Regions from separate parts of the Homo sapiens genome. Here region 2 is linked to region 1. Evidence: promoter capture Hi-C in human tissues and cell types (Jung and others, 2019). All regions are on one chromosome and are shown on one strand. Each heading gives the region's core, a stretch centred on a gene start or on the middle of the fragment in contact. The rest is flanking DNA. Distances are from core to core; before and after follow the strand shown. Region 1 holds the start of MTO1 (mitochondrial tRNA translation optimization 1). Region 2 overlaps MTO1 (mitochondrial tRNA translation optimization 1).

The links. Contacts are between HindIII fragments. The study calls those that stand out against the background at their distance.
Region 2: a fragment that was not itself captured here is called in contact with the fragment with the promoter of MTO1 in region 1 in 1 of the 25 tissues and cell types used here (spleen).

What each region holds. Positions count from the first base shown.
Region 1 is chr6:73,458,924-73,465,735 of GRCh38, forward strand. It overlaps MTO1 (mitochondrial tRNA translation optimization 1), which reads left to right and starts at 2,814. Exons shown (of 12, transcript NM_012123.4): 1 at 2,814-3,148. The coding sequence starts at 2,932. It also overlaps the pseudogene RNU6-975P. RefSeq lists a silencer at 2,315-2,374 and enhancers at 2,807-3,652, 2,825-3,154, 3,225-3,284, 3,305-3,354. The HindIII fragment of the contact is 26,494 bases long and covers 1-6,812 here.
Region 2 is chr6:73,499,285-73,506,096 of GRCh38, forward strand. MTO1 (mitochondrial tRNA translation optimization 1) reads left to right here. Exons shown (of 12, transcript NM_012123.4): 12 at 1,290-6,812. The coding sequence ends at 1,451. Among named protein-coding and RNA genes, the nearest start is that of EEF1A1, 18 kb to the right of the region's middle. RefSeq lists a silencer at 4,269-4,469. The HindIII fragment of the contact is 9,056 bases long and covers 1-6,812 here.

The sequences.
Region 1 (6,812 bases), core at 1,564-4,063:
GCCCAGGAGGCGGAGGTTGCAGTGAGCCATGATAGCGCCACTGCACTCCAGCCTGGGCAACAGAAGGAGATCCTATTAAAAAAAAATAAAGAAAAGAAATAATGTTTACTGTTTTTTGTTTTAAGGGTTTTTGTTTTGTTTTTTTGAGACAGGGTCTCAGTCACCCAGGCTTGAGTGCAATGGCACCATCTGGGCTCACTGCAACCTGTGCCTCCTGGGTTCAAGCAATTCTCCTGCCTCAGCCTCCTGAGTAGCTGGGACTGCAGGCACGCAGCACCATGCCAGGTTAATTTTTCTATTTTTAGTAGAGATAGAGTTTCGCCATATTGGCCAGGCTGGTCTCAAACTCCTGGTGGACTCAAGTGATCCGCCACCTTGGCCTCCCAAAGTGTTGGGATTACAGGTGTGAGCCACCACTCCCGGCCTATGTATTTAATACTTTTTATAATTAGAACAATAAAACTGCCACACTGTAGGGAGACCCCTGAAACTATTGCTACGGAATAAAAGATGAAATGCTCCTGATTATTGTAAATACAAAGTTGCATGCAGGATTGTGTAAAGAGAATGCCAGGTTGGACTGCCAGAATGAGCCAACAGCGGGTGATGTGCTTCCCCCTGCAGAGAGCCTATGAACGGACGTGCATCACCAAGATTCCTATCCCAGAAAAGCAGATGTTCATAGCTCTGGGAATGGAATGCAACCCTTGTGGAAAGCCTCTAAACGGACGCATGAGGGGCGCCTGTCCCTGTGGGTAAGATAGGGCTATAAATGCCCTCATCTTGCCACGGCTCTTCTAGGCCTTTTTAGGGTTAAGGCATACTCCCTTCTGAGAATTTCTGGTCTAACTGATTGTCTAGCTTCACATCCTGTTTCTATGGATTGTTTGTAACCAGCTTTTGCTGCAACTGTTACTGCTGATTAATATCTTGCTAATCATAGGTTATGGAAAGACTGTTTCTGTTTTAAGGCTCTGTTAGAAATTACTGATGCACACAATATATTGTAAATTCTTATCTCTGTATACTGTACTTCTGCATACAGATGTTATGTTAAAGAATTACTTCATCCCCATGTGACCATCTCACCTCATAATCAAATGACCCTAAATCCCTCACTAACCTACCCCTGCCCTCACTAAACTTAATAATAAATGCTGGTATATCCAGTGTATTAGCAGCATTGCAGGACCAGAAGGCAGTGACCCCCCTGGACCCAGCTTTCAATATCTTCTGTGTGTCTATTATTTCTCGACCTGCCAATCCGCCTGGGAACAAAGAAAGAGCCCCATTGCATTGTGGGCTGCTGGCCAGATCCTGCAATACCACACTTGTTTTATTCTCCAGTCAAACGTTGCCTTTCTGAGAAAGGCTGTGAATTGAGAAAGGCTGTGAATTCCAAAAGGCTGGACATTTAACCTCCAACCAACCGATTCTTCTAATTAACCAATTAGCCATCATGAATCTCTCTCTCTCTTTTTTTTTTTTTTGAGACAGAGTCTCACTCTTGTCGCCAGGCTGGAGTGCAGTGGCACGATCTCGGCTCACTGCAACCTCTGCCTACGGGTTCAAGCAATTCTCCTGCCTCAGCCGCCCAAGTAGCTGGGACTACAGGTGCATGCCACCACACCTGGCTAATTTTTTTTTTTGTATTTTAGTACAGACGGGGTTTCACCATGTTGCCCAGATTGGTCTCGAACTCCTGAGCTCAGGCAATCTGCCCCCTTCGGCCTTCCAAAGTGCTAGGATTACAGGCGTGATCCACCATGCCCAGGCACCATCATGAATCTTTCAGTCCACAAATATATTTGAACTCCTTTCGAATCTATTCTTTTTCTTTTCTTTTTCTTTTTTTTTTTTTGAGACGGAGTCTTGCTCTGTCGCCCAGGCTGGAGTGCAGTGGCACAATCTTGGTTCACTGCAACCTCGGCCTCCCAGGTTCAAGCGATTCTCCTGCCTCAGTCTCCTGAGTAGCTGGGATTACAGGTGCATGCCACCACTCCCGGCTAATTTTTTTTTTTTTTTTTTTTTTTTTTTTTTTTAGTAGCGATGGGGTTTCACCATGTTGACCAGGATGGTCTCCATCTCCTGACCTTGTGATCCACCTGCTTCGGCCTCCCAGAGTGCTGGGAATACAGGCGTGAGCCACCGCGCCCGGCCCGAATCTATTCTTATTTTCAGCCCTTAGTTTTTATAGACAAACAGAAGGTGACGGTGTATCAGATTGTCAGATCACAAAGATCTGATAAGGCAAAGTGATCAAATTCATTGATCGTAGGTGGCCACCTGGCGATAAGGACTGCAGGGCCTAAGAAAGTACAAAAGATGACCTTTAGTAGGAGCTCCCAACCCAGAACCACAGGAAATCAAAAAAAGCCCGCACGGGCGGATCACGAGGTCAGGAAATCGAGAACATCCTGGCTAATACGGTGAAACCCAGTCTCTACTAAAAATACAAAAAATTAGCCGGGCGTAGTGGCGGGCGCCTGTAGCCCCAGCTACTCGGAGGCTAAGGCAGGAGAATGGCGCGAACCCGGGAGGGGGAGCTTGCAGTGAGCCGAAATCGCGCCACTGCATTCCAGCCTGGGCAACAGAGCGAGACTCTGTCTCAAAATAAATAAATAAATAAATAAATAAATAAATAAATAAATAAATAAATAAATAAATAAATAAAAATAAAAAATAATAATAATAAAAAAAGCCCGCACGAACTAGGAAAGAAAATACACAACCGGCCCTCCGTGCGATCACCCATCTCCCTCACCAGGAAAGTAGCTCCAAACCGCCAATCAGCGGCGACGCTGGACGTAGACGTCCTACCCCGTGATATTAAAGCAAGATGGCCGCGCCCTGCAGATTGTCTCTTGTTGCGTAAGTTTTTTTGACCGTCACTCGTGTCAGCTTCAAAGTCAGATAGATTTTTCTCCCAGCATGTTCTACTTCCGAGGCTGTGGCCGTTGGGTCGCGGTTTCCTTCACCAAGCAGCAATTTCCGTTGGCACGGTTGAGCAGTGACAGCGCGGCGCCCCGGACTCCGCACTTCGACGTGATAGTCATTGGTGGAGGACATGCCGGGACTGAGGCAGCCACCGCCGCCGCTCGGTGCGGCTCTCGGACTCTGCTCCTCACTCACCGCGTGGACACGATCGGTGAGGAGCGCGGGTGCTGTGGAACTTGGCGTAGGACGCAGGCTGCTTCCTTCCCGCCTCCCCCGGTCTGAAGCGGGGGACCTCTTCCTTTCCTCAAAGCTAGTGAGAATCCTACCTTCTGTGGTTTTAGCCTCGATCAGTGTCTCGCAAGGATCAGGCGGGCCAGGCCAGAACTCTATATTAGTCTATTCTGCGAACCATAGATTATGCTGCTGCTGACAGTCGTCCGTTGTAGGAGGTTGGGGTTCGGGGTCAGTGCCTTGGGAAAGGGAGCTACCAACTACTCGCTGGTAGCTTCTTAGTTCATTGCTGCGTTTACCTTCTACTATGTTACTCCAGATAAAGGGTGAATTAACATTATTAACAATGGTTTATGGCCAGGTGCAGTGGCTCACTTCTTTAATCCCAGCACTTTGGGATGCCAAGGCAGGTGGATCACCTGAGGTCAGGAGTTTGAGACCAGCTTGGCCAACACGGCGAAACCCCGTCTCTACTAAAAATACAAAAATTAGCCGGGCATGGTGGCGGGCGCCTATAATCCCAGCTACTCGGGAGTCTGAGGCAGGAGAATCGCTTGAACCCGGGGGCAGAGGTTGCAGTGAGCCGAGATTGCGCCACTTCACTCCAGCCTGGGCAAAAGAGCAAAACTCCGTCTCAAAATAATGATAATATTAATAAAATAAAAAAATCCTTTATTAAACGGTTCTTGTGTTTTTATTTAAAAACATTTTTTTAGAGACAGGGTCTCGCCATGTTGCCCAGGCTGGAGTGCAGTGACTACTCATAGGCACGATCGTTGCACATTACAGGCTCCGCTTTCTGGACTCAAGAACTTTTCCTGCCTCTGCCTAACCAGTAGCTGGGATTGCAGGTGCTCAGTACTCTGCCCAGCCTGATCTTTGTGTTTCTGTCAAGATTTTGTGATGCCTTTTGGAAGAACCATGCTACCTTTTTTTTTTTTTTTTCTTTTGAGACAGAGTCTTGCACTGTCACACAGGCTCAAGTGCAGTGGCGCCATCTCGGCTCACTGCAAGCTCCGCCTTCCGGGTTAATGCCATTCTCCTGCCTCAGCCTCCCGAGTAGCTGGGATTACAGGCACCCACCACCACGCCCGGCTAATTTTTTTTTTCTTTGTATTTTTAGTAGAGTCGGGGTTTCACCATGTTAGCCAGGATGGTCTCGATCTCCTGACCTTGTGATCCGCCCGCCTCGGCCTCCCAAAATGCTGGGATTACAGGCATGAGCCACCGTGCCCAGCGCCATGCTACCTTTTGCATCCTATATTCCTTCTGGGTTGTCGTCCCTGGATTTTGTGTTTAGTACTGGACAGTACTTTTTTTGCTCTAATGGGTAATGGTTGGATGGCCGTTCTGTAGCATCATGATAGATACTAGCTAAAACATCAACTTGTAAATTATGTATACTTTTGTCTTTCCTCCTTCCTTTTGCTTAGGAGCGAGCAGTAATTAGAATATTTACTTGTTTTGTAAAAGTTGTGAATAAATCACTTATTTATTCCTGAAATTCTTCTTTAAAATAACCATTCAGCTCATAACTGTGAAGAAATATATACTATTAACTGCGGTTTTGTGGGTGGGGGAGAGGAGGCTATATGATTTCCTAAAAGATTATACTTTTCTCATCATACATTCAGGTGGGTTTTTTCTTTTCTTTTCTTTCATTTTTGAGACAGAGTTTTGCTGTTGTTGACCAGGCTAGAATGCAGTGGCGCGATCTTGGCTCACTGCAACCTCCACCTCCCGGGTTCAAGCGATTTCCTGCCTCAGCCTCCCAAGTGGCTGGGATTAGAGGAGTCTGCCACCACGCCCAGCTAATTTTTTGTATTTTTAGTAGAGATGGGGTTTCATCATGTTGGCCAGGCTGGTCTCCAACTCCTGACTTCAGGTGATCCACCCGTGTCAGCCTCCCAAAGTGCTGGGATTACAGGTGTGAGCCACCACACCTGGCCTGTTGTTTATATTTTTAAAAAATAAAGACCTAGTGCTTGCTTTGGCAACAACATAAACTAAAGTTGGAATGATATAGGGATTAGCATAGCCCCTGCACAAGGATGATGCACAAATTTGTGAAGTGTTCCATATTTTTAAAAAATAATAATAAAATAAAGACCTAGGCCAGGGGTGATTACTCACGCTTGTAATCCCAGCATTTGGGGAGCCCAGGAGTCTTCTATTTCAAAGGAAGAAGGAGGAAAATAATCTACCACAGCTGTCATTCCTGTTTTTACAGTAGAGAGACTAAGGTATGTTAGGTAACTTGCCATGATCACAGAGCTCATAAGTGGTAGGTCTAGAAATTGAGCCAGATATCTCTTTCACACACACTCCTCATAATGACACTTCATGCTCATAATCACAGTGCTATCCAGTCTCCCTGTGGAGACCATTAAAACTTGTGGAGGTCTTGTCTGGGCATGGTGGCTCATGCCTGTAATCCCAGCAGTTTGGGAGGCAAAGGCGGGCAAATCACCTGATGTCGGAAGTTCGAGACCAGCCTGACCAACATGGAGGAACCCTGTCTCTATTAAAAATAGAAAATTAAACACCCAAGAATGATCAATAAATACTAAAAAAAAAAAAAAAAAGAAAGAAAATTAGCCAGGCGTGGTGGCGTATGCCTGTAATCCCAGCTACTTGGGAGGCTGAGGCAGGAGAATCACTTGAACTCGGGAGGTGGAGGTTGCAGTGAGCTGAGATCGTGCCATTGCACTCCAGCCTGGGCAACAAGAGCGAAACTCTGTCTCAAAAAAAAAAAAAAAAAAAAAAAAAACTTTTGGAGGTCTTGATTCTTGATGTGGTGGCAGTGGATATGTGGATATTGACATAACTTGCCCATCCCTCCACCTCCCACAAAAACTTTTGAGGTAACCACATGGGTTTAGACCTCCAGGTAAGACTGGGTAAATGTAAGGGAAAGGTATAAAATATGGTCTTCACTCACAAGAAATTTGTAATTTAATTATATTTAATTCTGCAAAGTAAGTGCAAAAAGGAGATATCAGATGGCATTTATGGAAGACATAATTGGTTGTAACTGAACCAGTGCCAAGGGGCTTCTTTGTTTTTTCTTTTTTCTTTTCTTTTTTTTTTTGAGATGGAGTCACTGTTGTCACCCAGGGTGGAGTGCGATGGTGCCATCTCGGCTCACTGCAACCTCAGCCTCCCAGGGTCAAGCGATTCTTTTGCCTCAGCCTCCCAAGTAGCTGGGATTACAGGTGCAAACTGCCATGCCTGGCTATTTTTTTGTATTTTAGTAGAGACGGGGTTTCACCGTGTCGCCCAGGGTGGTCTCAAACTTCTGAGCTCCAGCAATCCACCCTCTTTGGCCTCCCAAAGTGCTAGGATTACAGGCGTGAGCCACCACACCCGGCCCTGTTTTTTATTTATTTATTTATTTTTGTCCTTATTTATGTTGAAGGACTAGGGACTTCTTACAAGTGTGCTTGATTTGGTAGATTCCTCTGGTGCTGTATCAAAAAAGAACAAATTTAAAAACCAAGTATACTTGGTTTAGAAAGGTTTCATGGGGTAAGGATTACATGTTTGAAAGGAAAAGGCAACCTAGTGAAACAGTAAAAATATGCATCAAGGAAGAGATTCAAAAGAAAGTTCAGGCCGGGCGCGGTGGCTCACGGCTGTAATCC
Region 2 (6,812 bases), core at 1,963-4,462, 41 kb after region 1:
TGTATGGATAATCATAGGCTACACTGCCACACTGTCCAACATGATAGCCACTCGCCAATTGTGGTTATTTACATTAATTAAAATTAAATAGGCCAGGTGCAGTGGCATGCACCTATAGTCCCAGCTACTTGGGAGGCTGAGGTGGGAGGATCGCTTGAGCCCAGGAGGTAGAGGCTGCAGCAAGTCATGATTATACCACTACATCCCAGCCTGGGTGACAGAGTGAAACCCTGTCTCAAAAAAAAAAAAAAGAAAAAAATTAAATAAAATGTAAAATTCAGTTCCTCAGTCTTACTAGCCACATTTCAAGTGCCCAGTAGCCACATATGACTAGTGGCTACCATATTGGACACTGCATTATTGCAGTGCACATGTTATAGAAGATTTCCATCATCATAGAAAGTTCAGTTGGACAGCACTGGTCATAGGAGTTCAGAACTCCTTGCCCACAATTCTATAATACAAAAGGCTCTGGCAGAAGTTTGCCACAAGCTCATTTGGTAGCAAAACTGAGCTCAGCTCAGAAGAGGCTATATGGTCTTTATACTGTTCAGAGTGAATATTCATACATTTCACTGTAAAAATACACTGCAGAAATATTAATAGGATTAAAAATGTGGGGCGCTGCCCCACACACTGCTGAGGCTGTTACATTAGGTACCGCCTCAAGGATTAGATATATCTTATTACAAAAACATATGGCTTCAAGGATTTCATTTCATTTTATTTTTTTGAGAGAGGGGCTTACTCTGTCACCCAGGCTGGAGTGCAGTGGCATAATCACAGCTCACTGCATTCTCGACCTCCCAGGCTCAAGTGATCCTCCCACCTTTGTTTTCTGAGAGGCTAGTACTACAAGTGTGCACCACCATCCTAAGCTAATTTTTGTTTATTTTCTGTAGAGACAGAGTCCCACTATTTTTCCCAGGCTGGCCTCAAGAATTTCAAATAAGGGACTGTGGACCTGTATTTGAAGAAAGGAACTTGATTACAGTTTTTCTTAGTTTAATGGGACAAAAAAGTAGATACTCTAACATCTATTAGTTATGTAATCTTGCACAAGCTATTTTAACATTTCTGTGCCTCAGTTTCCCATTTGTAAAATGAAGACATAAATAATAATATTTCCTTTATCTACTTTACAAGGAAATATGTTAAGATAATACATCAAAATAATAATTAAGAAAATATTGTATAAACTATACTATACAGATTGTTATTTGGAGGAAAATAGATTTGATTTGACATAGCATAGCTCACTTAGTTTCTCTTGTGGTATTGATTTTTAGATCGGGGCTGCTAGTCGCATACCCGGAGTAACACCTGCCGCCATCATCAATCTGCTGAGATTTGTGAAGACCACTCAACGAAGACAGTCGGCTATGAATGAATCATCCAAGACTGATCAATACTTATGTGATGCAGACAGACTTCAAGAGAGAGAGTTATAGCTTTCAATTCATAAAAGATTTTTAAAGAGCATATAAATAATTTGATCAATACAACAGTATAGATAAAAGAATTATTTAGCACATGTTAAAATAGCTTTATTAGGTTACTATGGGTTTGCCATTAATTTCTGAGTGGGACAGAAATTATAATTGTGCTTTTTCGTGTATATGAAAAAACTAGTCGTAAACAATTTGTACTCTTTCTTTAAGGAGCTGTAATACAAATAACTTTGTGCAGTGTTCATCAAAGAGAGAGACAGTGAACCTAAAACTGAACCTGGAATAAAACTCAACATGCAGATTTGCCTACTCATAGGGACTTTGCCTATTAAGTCTACCAAATTAAAAGTCTTATCATTCAGCGTGTTTTGAGAGTTAATAATCTTTTGCTTGGTTATACTAGGCTAGGAAGCAATATCAAAGCCCTTAAATTCTCAAGACTAAAGACTTGAGATTATATAAAATTATCCAGAATCATTCAGCTAATACTATTGGAATATAGTATGTAGGGTGAAAGTTGACAGAAATCTGTACTTCTTCAGGAAATCCTCACTGGTAATTGTTTTGAACATTAATGAAAGCCCTATAAAATAGAAAGATTGGAAATCACCATTGTTTCCTATTATCCACAGTGTGGATGGATACTTATTTGGTGACCTAGTTATGGGAGAATTGAGTAACGTTAGTTATTTTATATCATACCATAAAAATATTTTCTTAAGAAATTGTCATGGCCATCATTTCTTAATAATGAAGACAGGTCCATAGTAACTGGTGAGTGGTGTTTCCCTGTTTTTAAGTCAGAATGACAGAAAAAACAGAATAGTGGTAGTACCCCTCTTCCTCTCCAGTACTTCAATGGTATGTCTTCACAGGGGTTAGAGTGGGATAATCAGCTGGGCCTTTTGACTCAGATACCTCAGATACCTCAACCATTCTAAATAGACTAAGGGATGAATACAGCCAAATGGGCCAGACAGCCCTGCTTGTCTCTGGAATTCCAACCCAGATCTCTGGTGTCAGCCTAGGGAGAAGCTCCCGTGTCACCTTCGGGCCAAAGCAGGTACTCAGGAGAGTTCTAAGGGCCCCAAAGTCACTTTGGCTACAGATGTGTATGTTAAGCCTGATTATGGGTGTGAGGCAACCAAGTATCTTGTTACTATAATTGCATATGGCCACTTGGAGGTAGCTTAGTTTTCTTGGGTTTATTTTATCTAATTTTAGTCTTTCCAGAAAGCAGTAAGATTAGTAGCAAGTAAAAAGTATTTGTAGTGCTGGATAATTTAGGAATGATGAATATTTTTTAATACTTGATTCAGTGATTTCAAAAGGTCGTAACTTTTAGTCATAGCTACTCCTGGGCAAAATTCTTCTTACAGAGACAATATTAATTACAATACCACATTGTGTATATATTTTGAAAAGAGGCTGGTTGCAGCAGCTCACGCCTGTAATCCCAGCACTTTGGGAGGCTGAGGCGGGTGGATAACCTGAAGTCAGGAGTTCAAGACCAGCCTGGCCAACATGGCAAAACCCCATCTCCACTAAAAATACCAAAATTAGCCAGGCGTGGTGGAGCAAGCCTGTAGTCCCAGCTACTCAGGAGGCTGAGGCAGGAGAATCGCTTGAACCCAGGAGGCAGAGGTTGCAGTGAGCTGAGATTGTGCCACTGCACTCCAGCCTGGGCGACAGAGTGAGACTGTTTCAAAAAAAAGAAAAAGAAAAGAAGGTATTTTGTGTTTTTGTGCTACCCGTTCAGCAAAATAATGAAATTCATTGTTTCTAAACTTTTTTTTCTGATTAAATACAAGAGTAAAAAAAGTGAATGGAGTGCCTTTTGAATAGAATATAACAAAAATTTATCTTAAAGAAACGGGAAGTAACCTGGCACAGTGGCTCACGCCTGTAATCCCAGCACTTTGGGAGGCTGAGGCAGGTGGATCACGAGGTCAGGAGATCGAGACCATCCTGCCCAACATGGTGAAACCCCATCTCTACTAAAAATACAAAAATTAGCTAGGTGTGTTGGCACGTGCCTGTAGTCCCAACTACTCAGGAGGCTGAGGCAAGAGAATCACTTGAACTCAGGAGGCAGAGGTTGCAGTGAGCCAAGATCATGCCACTGCACTCCAGCCTGGCAACAGAGTGAGACTCTGTCTCAAAAAAAAAAAAAGAAACAGGAAGTTCAAATATTTTGGGAGGTTCTTGACAGCTACAATTTGGGGCTAGTGACACTATACACATATAAAGAAACTTTAAAGTTTCTTAGTAATGAAGGTTTGTAATGCTATTCCATTACAATAGTAACTGTCTCACTGAAAAATGTTTCATGGAAAATACATATTTTAGATTCTATGATTTGCTTTAGGATGTGAACTTCTTTATTTTTTAGAGACAGGGTCTCACTCTGTTGCCCAGGCTGTAGTGCAGTGGTACAATCATAGCTCACTGCAGCCTTGATCTCCTGGGCTCAAGTGATCCTTATGCCTCAGCCTCCCAAGTGGCTGGGACTACAGGCACATGCCACCATGCCTGGCTAAGTTTTAAAAAAATTTTTTGTAGGAATGAAGTCTCACTATGTTGCCCAGGCTGGTCTTGAACTTCTGGCCTCAAATGATCCTCTTGCCTTGGCCTCCCAAAGTGCTCAGATTACAGGCATGAGCCACCACACGTGGCCTGAAACCTCTTTAAATCCACAATGTTTGTATGTTAACTTAAACAAAATTACATCACTTAATATGTCAAAACAGCCTACCCTCTGGTGCTGCTATGCAGAAGTACTACAGAATATGATGCCCTAGGAAGAAATCAGCTAAAAATGTAACCTTACTCAATGTAGTTACTTCATAGAAATCCCATCACTGACAATAATCAGCTGCCAACGAAAGCTGGCCATACTTGTGACTTCCTCTATTCACCACAGACCAGACTGCCTACCAGTTGAAAAAGCCAGGTATTTTTTCAATTCAATTCAACAGGAACACCAAAAAATAAGAAATGACTAAGAAACACTAAGCATTTGTAAAATTACTGGGGGAGGAAGGATGAAGATACGAACCTATGCTAAATTAAACGATTATGGCCTTGAAAATGAAGTTCCTTTATAGCCAAGAGCTTAAATTTTGTTACTGATGGTTTTAAAAGTATTTTGTCATTTTTTAGTTTCAACCTAGATTGGAATAGCCATGGCTTTTCTACTTCAGAAATTTCAACTCCTAGAAGAATGCCCTGTCCAGAAGAAGTGGTCAGGAGTATCAGGAAAGCCACCAGCAGAGACTAGGGGTTTATTCTGATCTGGAAGAGCCACTTAACACTGGAATGCACACAGTGAAAATTAATTGTTCCTCTTACACTCCCTCTCCACAATACTTCTATTATTACACTTACTTCGTTCTACCTTAATGTTTTTATTTAGAGACAAGATCTCACTCTGCCACCCTGGCTGGAGTGCAGTGGCATGATTACAGCTCACTGCAGCCTCAACCTCCCTGGCTCTAGCTATTCTCCCATCTCAGCCCTCCAAGTAGCTGGGACTACAGGTGTGCACCACCATGCACGGCTAATTTTTAAGTTTTTGTAGATATGGGGTCTTACTATGTTGCCCAGGCTGGTCTCAAAGTCCTGGGCTCAATTAATCCTCCCTCTTCAGCCTCCTGTGTAGGTGATAGTACAGGCATGAGCCACCATGTGCCTGGCCCTACCTTAATGTTAATATCTGTCTACCTTAAGAAGATATAAGCCTTGTAAATATAAGCAATATCACAGTTGTAGATACTCGTGCTTTTTAAATAGATTAATGAATACTACTAAAGGCAAGAAATGGTATTACTAAAACTCAAGTGAATAATTAAATGAGATCAAAATATTTGTGACAGGCCAGGCACGGTGGCTTACGCCTGTAATCCCAGCACTTTGGGAGGCCAGGCGGATCACTTGAGCTCAGCAGTTCAAGACCAGCCTGGGCAACATGGCGAAACTCCGTCTTTACCAAAAATACAAAAATAAGCCAAGCATGGTGGCACGTACCTGTTGTTCCAGCAACTTGGGGGCTGAGGCAGGAGAATCACTTGAGCCGGGGAGTTTGAGGCTGCAGTGAGTTGATAGCATGCCACCACACTCCAGCCTGGGCAACAGAGTGAGACCCTGCCTGAAAAAAAGCCCAGGTGTGGTGGCTCACATCTGTAATCCCAGCATTTTGGGATTACAAATCTGCCAGCGCAAGCAGATCACTTGAGGATAGGAGTTTGAGACCAGCCTGACCAACATGTTGAAACCCCATCTCTTATTAAAATACAAAAATTAGCTGGGCGTGGTGGCATGCGCCTGTAATCCGAGCTACTCAGGTGGCTGAGGCACAAGAATCGCTTGAACCTGGGAGATGGAAGTTGCAATGAGCTGAGATCAAGCCACTGCACTCCAGCCTGGGCAACAGAGCAAGACTGTCTCAAAAAAAAAAAATTTGTACAGTCATGTTCAAAGTAGCATTAATTCACAATAGCCAAAAGCTGGAAGTAGCCCAAGTATCCACCAATGAATGAAAGGATAAACAAAATGTGGCATATACATACAATGGAATATTATACAGCCTTAAAAAGGAAGGAAATTCATATACATGCTACAGCATGGATAAACCTTGAAAAAGTTATGCTAACTGAAATCAGCCAGTCACAAAAAGACAAATACTGTATGATTCCCTTTATAAGAGTTACCTGGAGCACTCAAATTCATAGAGACAGTAAAATGATGGTTACCAGGGGATGGGGGAGGGAGAAACAGGAAACTATTCTTTAGTGAGTACAGAATTTCAGTTTTTTTGTTTTGTTTTTGTTTTTGTTTTTGAGATGGAGCCTCACACTGTCACCCAGGCTGGAGTGCAATGGTGTGATCTTGGTTCACTGCAACCTCTGCCTCCTAGGTTCAAATGATTCTTCTGCCTCAGTCTCCTGAGTCTGGGATTACAGGCGCCTGCCATCATGCCCAGCTAATTTTTGTATTTTTAATAGAGACAGGGTTTCACAGGTTGGCCAAGCTAGTCTCGAACTCCTGACCTCATGATCCGCCCACCTCGACCTCCCAAAGTGCTGGGATTACAGGGGTGAGCCACCATGCCCAGTCCAGAATTTCAAGTTTTGCAAGATGAAAAGAGTTCTGGAGATGGTTGATGGTGATGGTTGCACAACAATTTGAATATTTTAAATGCCAATGAACTGTTCATTTACAAATGGTTACGATGGAATTTTTCTTTTTCTTTTTTTTTTCTTGAGACGGAGTCTCGCTCTGTCACTCAGGCTAGAGTGCAGTGGCACTATCTCGGCTCACTGCAACCTCCTCCTGCTGGGTTAAAGTGATTCTCTTGCCTCA